4 separate regions of the Homo sapiens genome follow, and all the other regions are linked to region 2. The links are contacts of gene promoters, found by promoter capture Hi-C in human tissues and cell types (Jung and others, 2019). All regions are on one chromosome and are shown on one strand. Each heading gives the region's core, a stretch centred on a gene start or on the middle of the fragment in contact. The rest is flanking DNA. Distances are from core to core; before and after follow the strand shown. Region 1 holds the start of UAP1 (UDP-N-acetylglucosamine pyrophosphorylase 1). Region 2 holds the start of HSD17B7 (hydroxysteroid 17-beta dehydrogenase 7). Region 3 overlaps DDR2 (discoidin domain receptor tyrosine kinase 2). Region 4 overlaps UAP1 (UDP-N-acetylglucosamine pyrophosphorylase 1).

Region 1 (2,700 bases), core at 67-2,566, 230 kb before region 2:
GAAGTTCTAGGATCATGAGAGATGGAGAGTATTCAATCTCCTGAATGTAAATCTACCAGCATTACTTACCAAGTTTAAGTTTTTCTGTTGTTACTTGAGGCAGTGGGTGATTATGCAATTGGTAAAGGGAATGAAAAGGCCTTTGCACCCAAGAAAGTAGAAGAAAGGCGCCTGAATCTCTTTATGATAGGTGGTATGTTAAATCTAGGTATTTTCGTATTTCAACATATTCCACTTCTTGCAAAAGCTGCAAAATGCAACACAACTTTAAATGTAAACATAGCTTCCAAGGGCACAGTGCTGAACATATAATAACCTGTGTGTGCACACCCACACTAGGTTATGTAACAGGACTGTAAACACTGGTCCTGGAATGGCCTGGGAGGTCATCTAGGTCCTCCACCATCTTTCTGCAGAGTACTGAGGCCTAGCGACGTTAAGTCTGCAAACTCACAAAGATGACCCCGGGCTTATACTACCTTAGGTTACCTACTACCTTTGCTTGCATTTCCTCTCTCCTTTCCTGTCTGTTTGTGCAAAAGAAAAAAGGCCTGGCTTCGCCTTCTTGGGAGCCAAAACACAACCAAACAGAGAGCGAGTTTGGAGCCCGGCCAGGCATCTTGTGAACTGCACACAAAATAACTAGCCCAAGGTCAGAGAGCGCGCCAGGCCCGCCCTGAAAGTTTCTCCGCAGGAAAATCCACCGCCCTTTCCCAACCACCCGCGTGGGTGGCTCGGAAATCCGCCACCCTGGGGACACAGCTCCCTGCCCATCTCTGTGGCCCGCTTGTGCCCCGTGCCGCTGGGCCGACTAAGAGCCTCGGGCTCGCACCTCCCAGTACAACCTAGGGACGTCAGGGGTCCTGGGACCCACGAGCCGCTCTCTGCCGGCCGGCTCCTGGCCCCTCCTAGCAGACCCAACCGACATCCTTCACCCTCAGTTAGTGCGCAGGAGGGACCGGGACGCCAGCCGACTGCGCTCCAGAACTATTCCCATTGGGCCAGAGAATGAGTGACGCACTAGGCCCCGCCCCGGCCCGGTGGGTTACTCCTTTCATGCCCGGCCCCCATCCCTAGCCCCGCCCCGGCGCCCCGGGCCGCGGCCGCCTCCGCGTCCGCGTCGTCGTCTGTGCTCCCGGCGCTGACGTGTCTGGGCGGTCGGCTTCCACTCCTTCAGGCGTCGGCAGCCACTAGTCGTGGCGAGAGGGGCGGGGTGGCCGGGGCTGGCGCTCCACTTGGCCCCCGCTCCCGGCCCGCCCCGCCGCCGCGGCCCCCCGGATGAGGGTATATATTCGGAGCGAGCGCGGGACGCCGATGAGTGGCCGCGCGGAAGGAGCTGGAGACGGTCGTAGCTGCGGTCGCGCCGAGAAAGGTGAGGGGCTCCCAGCCCAGCGAGGAGACGGCGGGGCTCGGGACCCGGGCGGGCGGAGGGCCTGGCCCCACCGCACACACGGCCACGCGCTCAGACGTGGACACGCGTCGCACGAACGTGCACAGCGCGGGCAGCCGAGCACACGCCGAGGAGCCTCCCGCTCGCCCGCAGACACACACCCCAGCCCGTGCGCCCCGCAGTCGCACCCCATCCTCCGCCACCCCGCGAGAGGGTGTGTGGGCTGGGCAGCCGGGTGGATGGCGGGGCCAGGGATGGAATGAGCGCGCCCCAGATGGACTGGGGGCGTTGTGGGAGGAGGTCTGGGCCAGTGTCTGAGTCCGAGGGGGTCGTGTAGGCGTGTGGGGTTGGGAGTGGGGCCTCTCCCGGGTGGGCAGTAGAGACCTCGAGGCTCTCAGGCTAGGGCCTTGTGGACAGTTATACCAAGTGTGGGGGCCTGTAGTGGGACAGGAGATCGTTGGCACTGTCAGGTGGAAGCGAGTTGGTGTGTCTTGAATATATGAGGAAAAGATTTGAGAGGTCTGACAAAGACAGGGGATACATTTGGAGGACAGGACAGTGGGACAAAACCTGTTTGCTTGCCACTTTTTTCTTTCTTTTTTTTGGTTTGGTTTGCCATGATACTGGTAGTGAGAGAGAATTGAAATTTCTGGGTTTCCCCTCTCTTGGCCAAGCAGAAGGATGGTATTGGAGGGCTGAGCACACGTATGCTGAACATATGGCTGCTTGAACTTTGGCCTGTCGCTGTGCTACACTTACTTCTACATGGTTTATGAAATCTGAAATCAGGTAATAGGATTATGATCATATGTGTGTGTCATTTGGTATTGCAAAAGTTTAAGGACTTTTAGGTGAAATTCACTGGGTGTGGATCCAAGAGTTCGCCGGAAACTCAAGGCAGTTGTCTATTCCTTCACGGTTAGTCAGTTGGCTCACTTAGCTGGAGCAAAGAAAGACTTCATAGGCTGTGCTGCCAAGCATTTATAGGATTCAGTTGGTGGTTATGTCTCAACTCTGATACTGTTTTTCAAAAGCTTTAAGAGGTTTACTTATTCATTTCGAGGGCATACGTATACCAGCAGAGATAGGGGCTGGGTGGGGGAAGCCAGAAAAGGAGGGAGAAATACTGGATTTCTTTAATACTGGTATTTAAATTCTAATAAAAATATATTTGATAATGGTAGATTATTACCAAATTTTTCATATATTTTGATGCAGATGGATTAGGCTGTGGGCATGTACCAAGTTTTGTCATAATTTCTCGAGCAGATTTTCAACTTTTTCAGATTTCGGTTGTCAAAATAAAAATC
Region 2 (2,700 bases), core at 132-2,631:
CTGAGGCTCCAGAGGAAGGTTTTCAGGACTCAGACCTTAGTTACAGATTAAAAGAAGTTAATCACTTATGTCTTTAGATAAATGCACACTTACACATAGACAGTTCGCTTAGAAGGCATATAAGCTCTGAAAAACTGTAATTTTGAGTTGGTCTGGTGATAATTTCCAGGCCTTCTCCCTGCAACCGGTTACAGAAATAAAAACTCTCTTCCTCCCCAGCTCATCTGCATCTCGTTATTGGGCCTTGAAAAATAGCAGCCCAACCCTCAGTTTGGTCTGAGAACAGAAGGTTGTAGGGAGAGTAGCCTTTGATCCTTTGCTACTGGGGAGTGGGGAGATGGGGTTTTTCCTTCTGGTTTAGCTTTAGGAAGTTGGTGTTAATTGACCCTAGGCTCTCGGCCCCCAGACCCAGGTGTTTTCCTTTTGATCCAGCTTTGGGAAGCCAGCACCAATTGGTCTCAGATTCCCTACTTCCAGCCCTTGCTGTTTTTCCTTGATTGAGCTTTAGGAAGTCAGCACGAAGTGGCCTTAAGTACCCTGCCTCCAAACCCTATTCTGCCTCATTTTGGCAGAGTACTTTTATATGTCTTGGATCTAATAATAAAATATCGGGGCTTGTGTTTTGTATGCCTTTTGCTTTTCTTTTTCTAGCACTTTATTTTTTTGTATTTTCTAAAAGCACCCATCTGGGATGGCTTGGAGACAAAAACAGGTCCTTTAGCACAGTTTGAGATGCACTGATACAGAAGGTTACAGCACATTCTCAGTACTTCGGAGAATGAAGTTCTGAGATTCTGATTCCACGCCACATTCCAAGTTTTGAATACTGGTAATTTACGTCTGATTCTACATAAAGTTCTTAATAAAATCAGTGCTCATTTTCTCAAATAAGCTTCTTTAGAGGAGGAGGTCTGGGATCAAAAGTTGGGCTGTGAAGTGGCACAATGCCTGGATCTGTACATCCAAAAAGGAGTGGAAAATTAGATGATAATCGCCCAACTTTGGCTCCTAGACCCAAACCTTTTCTCTAAAATGGGCACTGGTGCAAATACCGTGAGGCCTTCCTGCAAAGAAGTGCCAATCTCAGGCGCCAGGGCACAGACCCAGTGCGTGTCACAGATCCTGTCCTGAGTGCTAGGCCGGGTGACGCCCCCACCAGGATTAAAGATCAGGCGCCCGCTGAGCCCTAGGAAGCAGTGACAGACACCTGCGCCTAGGCGGAGCGAGAAGAGCCTGGAATGGCTCCGGGCTTTGCGTCACGCAGCTCCGCCCCTCGGCCTATCTCACCCGACGCCGTCTCCGAGGGCAGGGAACGGTTGGCGGACTGAGATTGGAGGGATCAGCTCAGACTCGATGACGCAACGGGAGGCGGGGCGTGGCCGTACTCTGATTGGTGACGGGTGAGGCGGCCCGAAATCGTAGGACTTCCGAAAGCAGCGGCGGTGTTTGCTTCACTGCTTGGAAGTGTGAGTGCGCGAAGATGCGAAAGGTGGTTTTGATCACCGGGGCTAGCAGGTGAGGCCTCCTTTGGGTTGGCAGAGGCGGCAGCGGATCAGGGGTCCGAGAGAGCAGGGGTCTGCGACCCTCCACGAACGGACCCCGGAAGCGCCCGCCCCTGGCTTTGCCTAGGTTCCCCGGAGTCTGCAGCAGGTGTGGGGCATGTCGGCCTCTTGAGGTGCTCAGTAACTGGTGCTTTGTATTAAACATGACAGTGAAAAGGAAAACTAGAGCATCAGTAAGTGATGAGTGTCGCAGTGATGATCCTGAGGTTATCAAGGCAATGGGGTACTCAGGCGGGCTCCGCCCCTTTTCCATCTTTGCCTACTGTTCGTATTTATCGTCAGTGCCCAATATTTTGCTCCTGACCACGTGATCATGTCTTATACTCCAGGTGTTTTGTCTGTACAAGCCTTTTGCCTACAAATTTGAACACCCATGAACATTAGGACGGTGGAGAGAAAACAATCCCGTTTCATTTAGCTCAGTGCTAGAGAGCTAACATACTCTTCAGAAACCCAGAGAAAATTAATCTTTTCCTATGAAGGCATGGTTGGGGTGCAGAATAACCAGCTCATAATAATTCCAGGGTTGCTCGTTTAGTCTCTCAGCCTCTTCTGTTGCTTGTTTTACCTGTCATTTGCACTTCTGTGAAAAATGTGTGGAGGATGAAGCCAATCAAACCATTTTTCTACTAGTTGCATTTGGCATTTTTAAATGATTAAGACAGAGGACATGTTAAACATTTAAGATTGATCCACTTTCAATTATTTAACCACATGCGTATTAACTAAGCCAGCTTGGTAGGTGTCTGCATTTGGCAACTTTTTAGCATACCCTCTCAAGTGACTTTAACCGTTGATTGGTGCTTCTTATGTGGAAGGTACTGAGTAAGTCAGAATTGATTTTGTCTGTTTCTTTTACATATATTGTGACATGTGCAATTGTATATTAAATGCCTACTGTTCTCATGTGAGGACAAATAAATATTTTTGATGCTTTGTTGTTGGTGCTAATAGATTACTGATGGTTCCAGGCTCTTTTTGGGTTTTAACTATTAACATATTTGCCTGGAATCAGCTTAAGTCTTGAAAGAGAACTTATTACCCAGCTTTTCATTGCTATCAGCCAGGCTGGTCTGACTGCTGTCACCACTCCTATGCGGTTTTACAATGCTGGTTTTGAAGTTCTTTGTTTCCAAGT
Region 3 (2,700 bases), core at 52-2,551, 150 kb before region 2:
ATGGTCTTCATTATTATCATCATAATTATGGCTATCGTTCTATGTCTAAATCCAAGCATTAAAGAACAAACTCCCATATCCCCATGGTAAGGTTGGAGAAGTGCGTGCAAGTGTGTCTATGTGTGTTTTTGGCAATTTTAAAGTACAGTCACACCAATATATGCCACTTCCATTTCTTGCTGGAAGTAAAATGAGTGACTACTTGGGCTTTGTAAAAGAAAATCGCACTTTGGAAGTCCTTGTGGGAGCCATACCAAAATGCCTTGCAGTACTGTAACTTCTCAGAGGCATGTAAAAGTTAGAGGATTGGTGAAGTTTTCAAAAGCTACTGGCACTTGTCCTTCAGGATGAACCCTCTTGAGATGCAGGGGAGCAAATTGACCTCAATAAGAGAGTAGTGGGAGCTAAATTCACTCAAGAATAGCAATCTGTTCCTCAGACAGATGCAGTTGTAATTTTAGAATGTGTACATAACAGACAGTTTAAAATGGACATAATAACGCTAAAATAGTATCAATGGAAATTAAAAATAAGTCCTAATCCCAACCAAAATTCTAGCAAGTTGTTTTGTGGATATCAACGAACTGATTCTTTTTTTTTTTCTTTTTTCTTTTTCTATCTTTGAGACGGAGTCTTGCTCTGTTGCCCAGACTGGAGTGCAGTGGCGCAATCTCGGCTCAGTGCAACCTCCACCTCCCAGGTCCAAGTGATTCTCCTGTCTCAGCCTCCTGAGTAGCTGGGATTACAGACATGCACCACCATGACTGGCCTCAACCAGCTGATTCTAAAGTTTATATAGACAGTTAAAAGACCAGATTAGCTACTGCAATATTGAATGAGAACAAAGTCAAAGGACTGACAGTACCTGACTTCAAGGCTTACTGTAAAGCTCTGGTAATCAATACATTGTGGTACTGGTGAAAAAATAAACAAATAGATCAAGAAAACAGAATAGAGAGCCCAGATAGACCCATATAATGTAGCCAACTGTTCTTTGACAAAGGAGCAAAGGCAATCTGATGGAGAAAAGGTAGTATTTTCAACAAATGGTGCTGGAACAATTGGACATCCACATGCAAAAATAATGAATCTTAGGTATAAACCTTACATCCTTCACAAAAGCAACTCAAAGTGGATCATAGACCAAAATGTAAATGCAAAACAATGAAACTCATAGAAAATAACATAGGAAAAAATCTCAGTAATCTTGGATATTGTGATGACTTTTTAGTTACAGCACCAAAGGCACTATCTGTGAAAGAAATCCCTGATTAGCTGGACTTCATTAAAATTGTAAACTTCCACTCTGTGAAAGACAATGTCAAGAGAATGAGAATACAAACCACAGGTTGAGAAAAATACAGATGGTGCTGACTTAAAACGGTTCAACTTACGATTTTTCAACTTTACGACAGTGCAAAAGTGATACTCATTCAGTAGAAATAGTACTTCGAATTCTGAATTTCATTGGACAAAACTATGGAAACAGTAAAAACTATTCGTAGTTGCCAGGAATTAGGGGTGAGGGAGGGATAAATTGAACACAGAGGATTTTTAGGGTAGTGAAACTGTTCTGTGGTTACTACAATGGTGGATGTATGTCATTATACCTTTGTCAAAACCCATAGAATGTACAACACTGAGAGTGAACCCTAAGACAAACAATGTACTTTGGGTGAAATGATTTTTTTTTTTTTTTGAGATGAAGTCTTGCTCTGTCGCCCAGGCTGGAGTGCAGTGGTGTGATCTCGGCTCACTGCAACCTCTGCCTCCTGGGTTCAAGCGATTTTCCTGCCTCAGCCTCCTGAGTAGCTGGGATTACAGGCGTGTGCTATCACGCCCAACTAATTTTTGTATTTTTAGTACAGACAGGGTTTCACCATGTTGGCCAGGCTGGTTTCGAACTCCTGACCTCATGATCTGCCCCCCTCAGCCTCCCAACGTGCTGGGATTGCAAGTGTGAGCCACCGCGCCCAGCTGAAAATGATGTGTTGATATCACAGACCATTAGGTTTATTGATAGGCTTATTGATTGTAATAAATGTGCCAATGTCGTGAGGGATGTCAATAGTGAGGGAGGTTTTGTAGCAGAGGACAAGGGTGTATATGGGAACAATCTGTACTTTCTGCTTAATTTTGCTGTGAACCTACAACTGCTTTAAAAAGAATTAAAGTTTAATTTAAAAAATCTGCCCAATCTCCAAATTCTAATACTTTGATTCCATCTTGGCTACTTCTTTCTTATTTGAAGGCAGTCATTGTAATATAGTTATAATCATGAGCATCTGTATTTTAAAATGCTTAATTTTGTTTTTCAGATAAGTACCCTAAACTTAAATGATATTATTTTATTTATTAAAGCTACCTGAGGCAGAAATGTTTCAAAATCTTGAAAAAGACTAATTCAATAGGTTAATAGCAGATAAGTAGGTATTTTTGTGTCATACTCTTCAAATTATAATAACTATCACTTAAAGAATAGTCATTTTTGTTCGTTTGTGATCCTTCCACCTCAGCCCCTCGACTAGCTGGGACTATATGTGCGTACTACCACACCTGGCTAACTGTTGTTTTTTGTAGAGATGAGGTTTCACTATGTTCTTCAGGCAGGTCTCAAACTCCTGGGCTCAAGCAATCCTCCCACCTTGGCTTCTCAAAATGCTAGTATTACAAACATGAGCCACTGGACCCACCCTCATT
Region 4 (2,700 bases), core at 98-2,597, 200 kb before region 2:
GTATACAGGCTGATTGTTCCTGTCATATTTGATGGCCCTTAATATGGAGAAAACTGTTCTGTTGATTTATTCTCACACTAACAGCTCTCCTTTTTGGTCACTGCATTAATTTTAGTCAGTTACTTTCTTGCTTCTAAAGAATCTTTTTATCTTAATGGCAGATCATTTTTAGTTAGAAGTAACACATATCCTCTCCCATCTGGGTACTGACAGAGTTTGGAAAAGCCATTATCTTTATAGTTTAAGAGACAGCTTGATGTTATTGTTACACTTTGAAAGTTAAAGTTTTTAAGGTTGGGTGCGGTGGCTCACACCTGTAATCCCAGCACTTTGGGAGGCCAAGGCAGGCAGATTACCTGAGGTCAGGAGTTCGAGACTAGCCTGGCAAACATGGCGAAACCTCATCTCTACTAAAAATACAAAAATTAGCTGGTGTGGTCATGCACGCTTGTAGTCCCAGCTACTCAGGAGGCTCAGGTGGGAGAATCACTTGAGCCTGGGAGGCAGAGGTTGCAGTGAGCTGAGATCGCACCATTGCACTCCAGCCTTGGTGACAGAGCAAGACTCCATCTCAAAAAAAAAAAAAAGAAAGAAAGAAAAAGTTTTTAAGGTAATTTGGGAAATATATGCAGGGCAAAAGATCTGGAGATGGAAGTTATCTCAGAAATAGAGTAGCACCTTCATCAGTGTCACCCACGTGCTTTTTCCTGTCTGTGCCATTCCTCTGCCCAGACAAATTCCTGTGAGTGTCAGTGTTTCTGGGATGTGATTCTGTAAACAAGGAAGTGGACTCAAAGATCTGATCAATTTCTTATAGGTGCTGTAGATCAGCGGTCTCCAACCTATTTTGGCACCAGGGACTGGCTTTGTGGAAGACAATTTTTCCACAGACTTGGGGTGGTGAGGGTGGTTTCAGGATGATTCAAGCATGTTACATTTATAGTACACTTTATTTCTATTATTATTACATTGTAATGAAATAATTATACAACTCACTGTAATGTATAGAATCAGTGGGAGCCCTGAGCTTGTTTTCCTGCACCTAGGTGGTCCCATTTGGGGATGATGGGAGACATCATCAGGCATTAGACTCTCATAAGGAGCACACAACCTAGATCCCTTACATGGGCAGTTCACGATAGTGTTCACATTCTTAAGAGAATCTGTTGCGGCCACTGATCTGACAGGAGGTGGAGCTCAGGCAGTAATGTGAGTGGTGGGGAGCATCTGTAAATACAGATGAAGCTTTACTCACTTGCCCACTGCTCATCTCCTGGTGTGTGATCCAGGTCCTAACAGGCCACAGAGTAGTACCGGTCCATGGCCCAGGGGTTGGGGACCGCTGCCATAGATGACTGTTGTCTCTCCTGCCTTGGGAACTGGGATGCAGAGCCCTTTATCACTTTCTGTCTCATCCACCATTTTTAATATATGGAAGCAAGCTGCTTTTATATTTAAGAAATAAAACTTTGATTAAATTTCTTTGTCATTGAACCATAGCTTTTAACCTAACAGTGTAATAGATTGTTAATTATATAACTGAAGACAGCATCTAGCTATCTTAGTTAAGATACAAAAAGCTTTAAACATTATTCTTACTCTTTTGTTTAATATCCCCCATCGCCCAGTTTACTTCATTTTAGCCATTTATAGAATAATTAAAGTGAAATCAAAGTTTGGCTTTAAATGATACCATGCACTGAAAAAGAGTTCCTGCGTAATCCTTAGCACCAAAGGATGACCTTACACAGCTGAAGAACATCATGTAATTGTGAGAGATGAAAAGGAAGTATATTATGTAAAAGAGGGAAGAAGCAACTAGGAGGTATTCTGAAAGAATGGAAACAACCATGCTGAGTTTTGACTCGATATTATTTTTATTTCTCACCTTAATGCTTACTGAATAGTGTTAGCTACCAAAAGGATGCATGGCTAAAGAATTGTGGGGCAGTAGGTTTATTGGGCTAATTTGCTTATATCCTGAGATTTTACATTTGGTGATGGTAGCTTCTGTTTTCCCTCCTTCAGGGCATCCAATTTTGTTTACTGAAGTTCACTCCTTAGTTTCTTGGGGTATCTTTGTGGTAGTAGAATGGAAGTTACATATTCAGGCCAGCTGTATATGTGTTTCTTGGGTTCACAACCACCTTCTGTTCCTGCTACACTGAATCCTTCAGGGGTTTAGGTGGGACTGGGCTATATACATCTTAATGGGGTGGGCCCTCATTTTTTCCTTTTTTTTTCCTCGGCATGCCTACTCAAGATTCATTTGGTTTTGTATGACTTTGAGTTGCCCCAGAAGGTCTGGACTAGACCTCTTGAGCTCTTGTGGTAGAATCTGGCATGTATGTAGAGAGGTGTGTGCCCCACTATGCCTCCTCTTTTCCCTTCATTAGTTTGTCATCATTTTCATAGTGTTATTTGTTCAGACAACAAGCATTCGTAGGCCTGCTCATAGGTTTATAGGTGCTATTAGTATCCTAGGTGCTGAAGTATCTTATACAAGAGAAATAAGTCACTTCTTACAGACTACTGGGATGTTCAAGATGCACATACATAAAAGTTAAGTAACATTTTCAGGCAGTATGTGATTATGTGCTAAATGTGTGCTATAGCAATAATTACTCTGGGAGGCAGTGACTTAGCAGGTGTCTAATACATTTATTTTTTATTTATTATTGTTATTATTATTTTTGAGAC

What was found. The method cuts DNA at HindIII sites, captures the fragments that hold promoters and counts their contacts. A contact is called where the count stands out against the background at its distance.
Region 1: a contact is called between the fragment with the promoter of UAP1 here and the fragment with the promoter of HSD17B7 in region 2, in 1 of the 25 tissues and cell types used here (hippocampus).
Region 3: a contact is called between a fragment that was not itself captured here and the fragment with the promoter of HSD17B7 in region 2, in 1 of the 25 tissues and cell types used here (mesenchymal stem cells).
Region 4: a contact is called between a fragment that was not itself captured here and the fragment with the promoter of HSD17B7 in region 2, in 2 of the 25 tissues and cell types used here (aorta and hippocampus).

Annotation. Positions count from the first base shown.
Region 1 is chr1:162,560,406-162,563,105 of GRCh38, forward strand. UAP1 (UDP-N-acetylglucosamine pyrophosphorylase 1) reads left to right here and starts at 1,317. Exons shown (of 11, transcript NM_001324116.5): 1 at 1,317-1,372. UAP1-DT (UAP1 divergent transcript) reads right to left here and starts at 948. Exons shown (of 3, transcript XR_426859.4): 1 at 833-948; 2 at 70-247. RefSeq lists a silencer at 906-1,805. The HindIII fragment of the contact is 20,893 bases long and covers 1-2,700 here.
Region 2 is chr1:162,789,321-162,792,020 of GRCh38, forward strand. It overlaps HSD17B7 (hydroxysteroid 17-beta dehydrogenase 7), which reads left to right and starts at 1,382. Exons shown (of 9, transcript NM_016371.4): 1 at 1,382-1,515. The coding sequence starts at 1,481. RefSeq lists a silencer at 1,310-1,369. The HindIII fragment of the contact is 13,139 bases long and covers 1-2,700 here.
Region 3 is chr1:162,638,361-162,641,060 of GRCh38, forward strand. The region is part of intron 1 of DDR2 (discoidin domain receptor tyrosine kinase 2); the gene reads left to right. Among named protein-coding and RNA genes, the nearest start is that of DDR2, 7.2 kb to the left of the region's middle. The HindIII fragment of the contact is 5,394 bases long and covers 1-2,700 here.
Region 4 is chr1:162,593,175-162,595,874 of GRCh38, forward strand. The region is part of intron 9 of UAP1 (UDP-N-acetylglucosamine pyrophosphorylase 1); the gene reads left to right. Among named protein-coding and RNA genes, the nearest start is that of UAP1, 33 kb to the left of the region's middle. The HindIII fragment of the contact is 3,411 bases long and covers 1-2,700 here.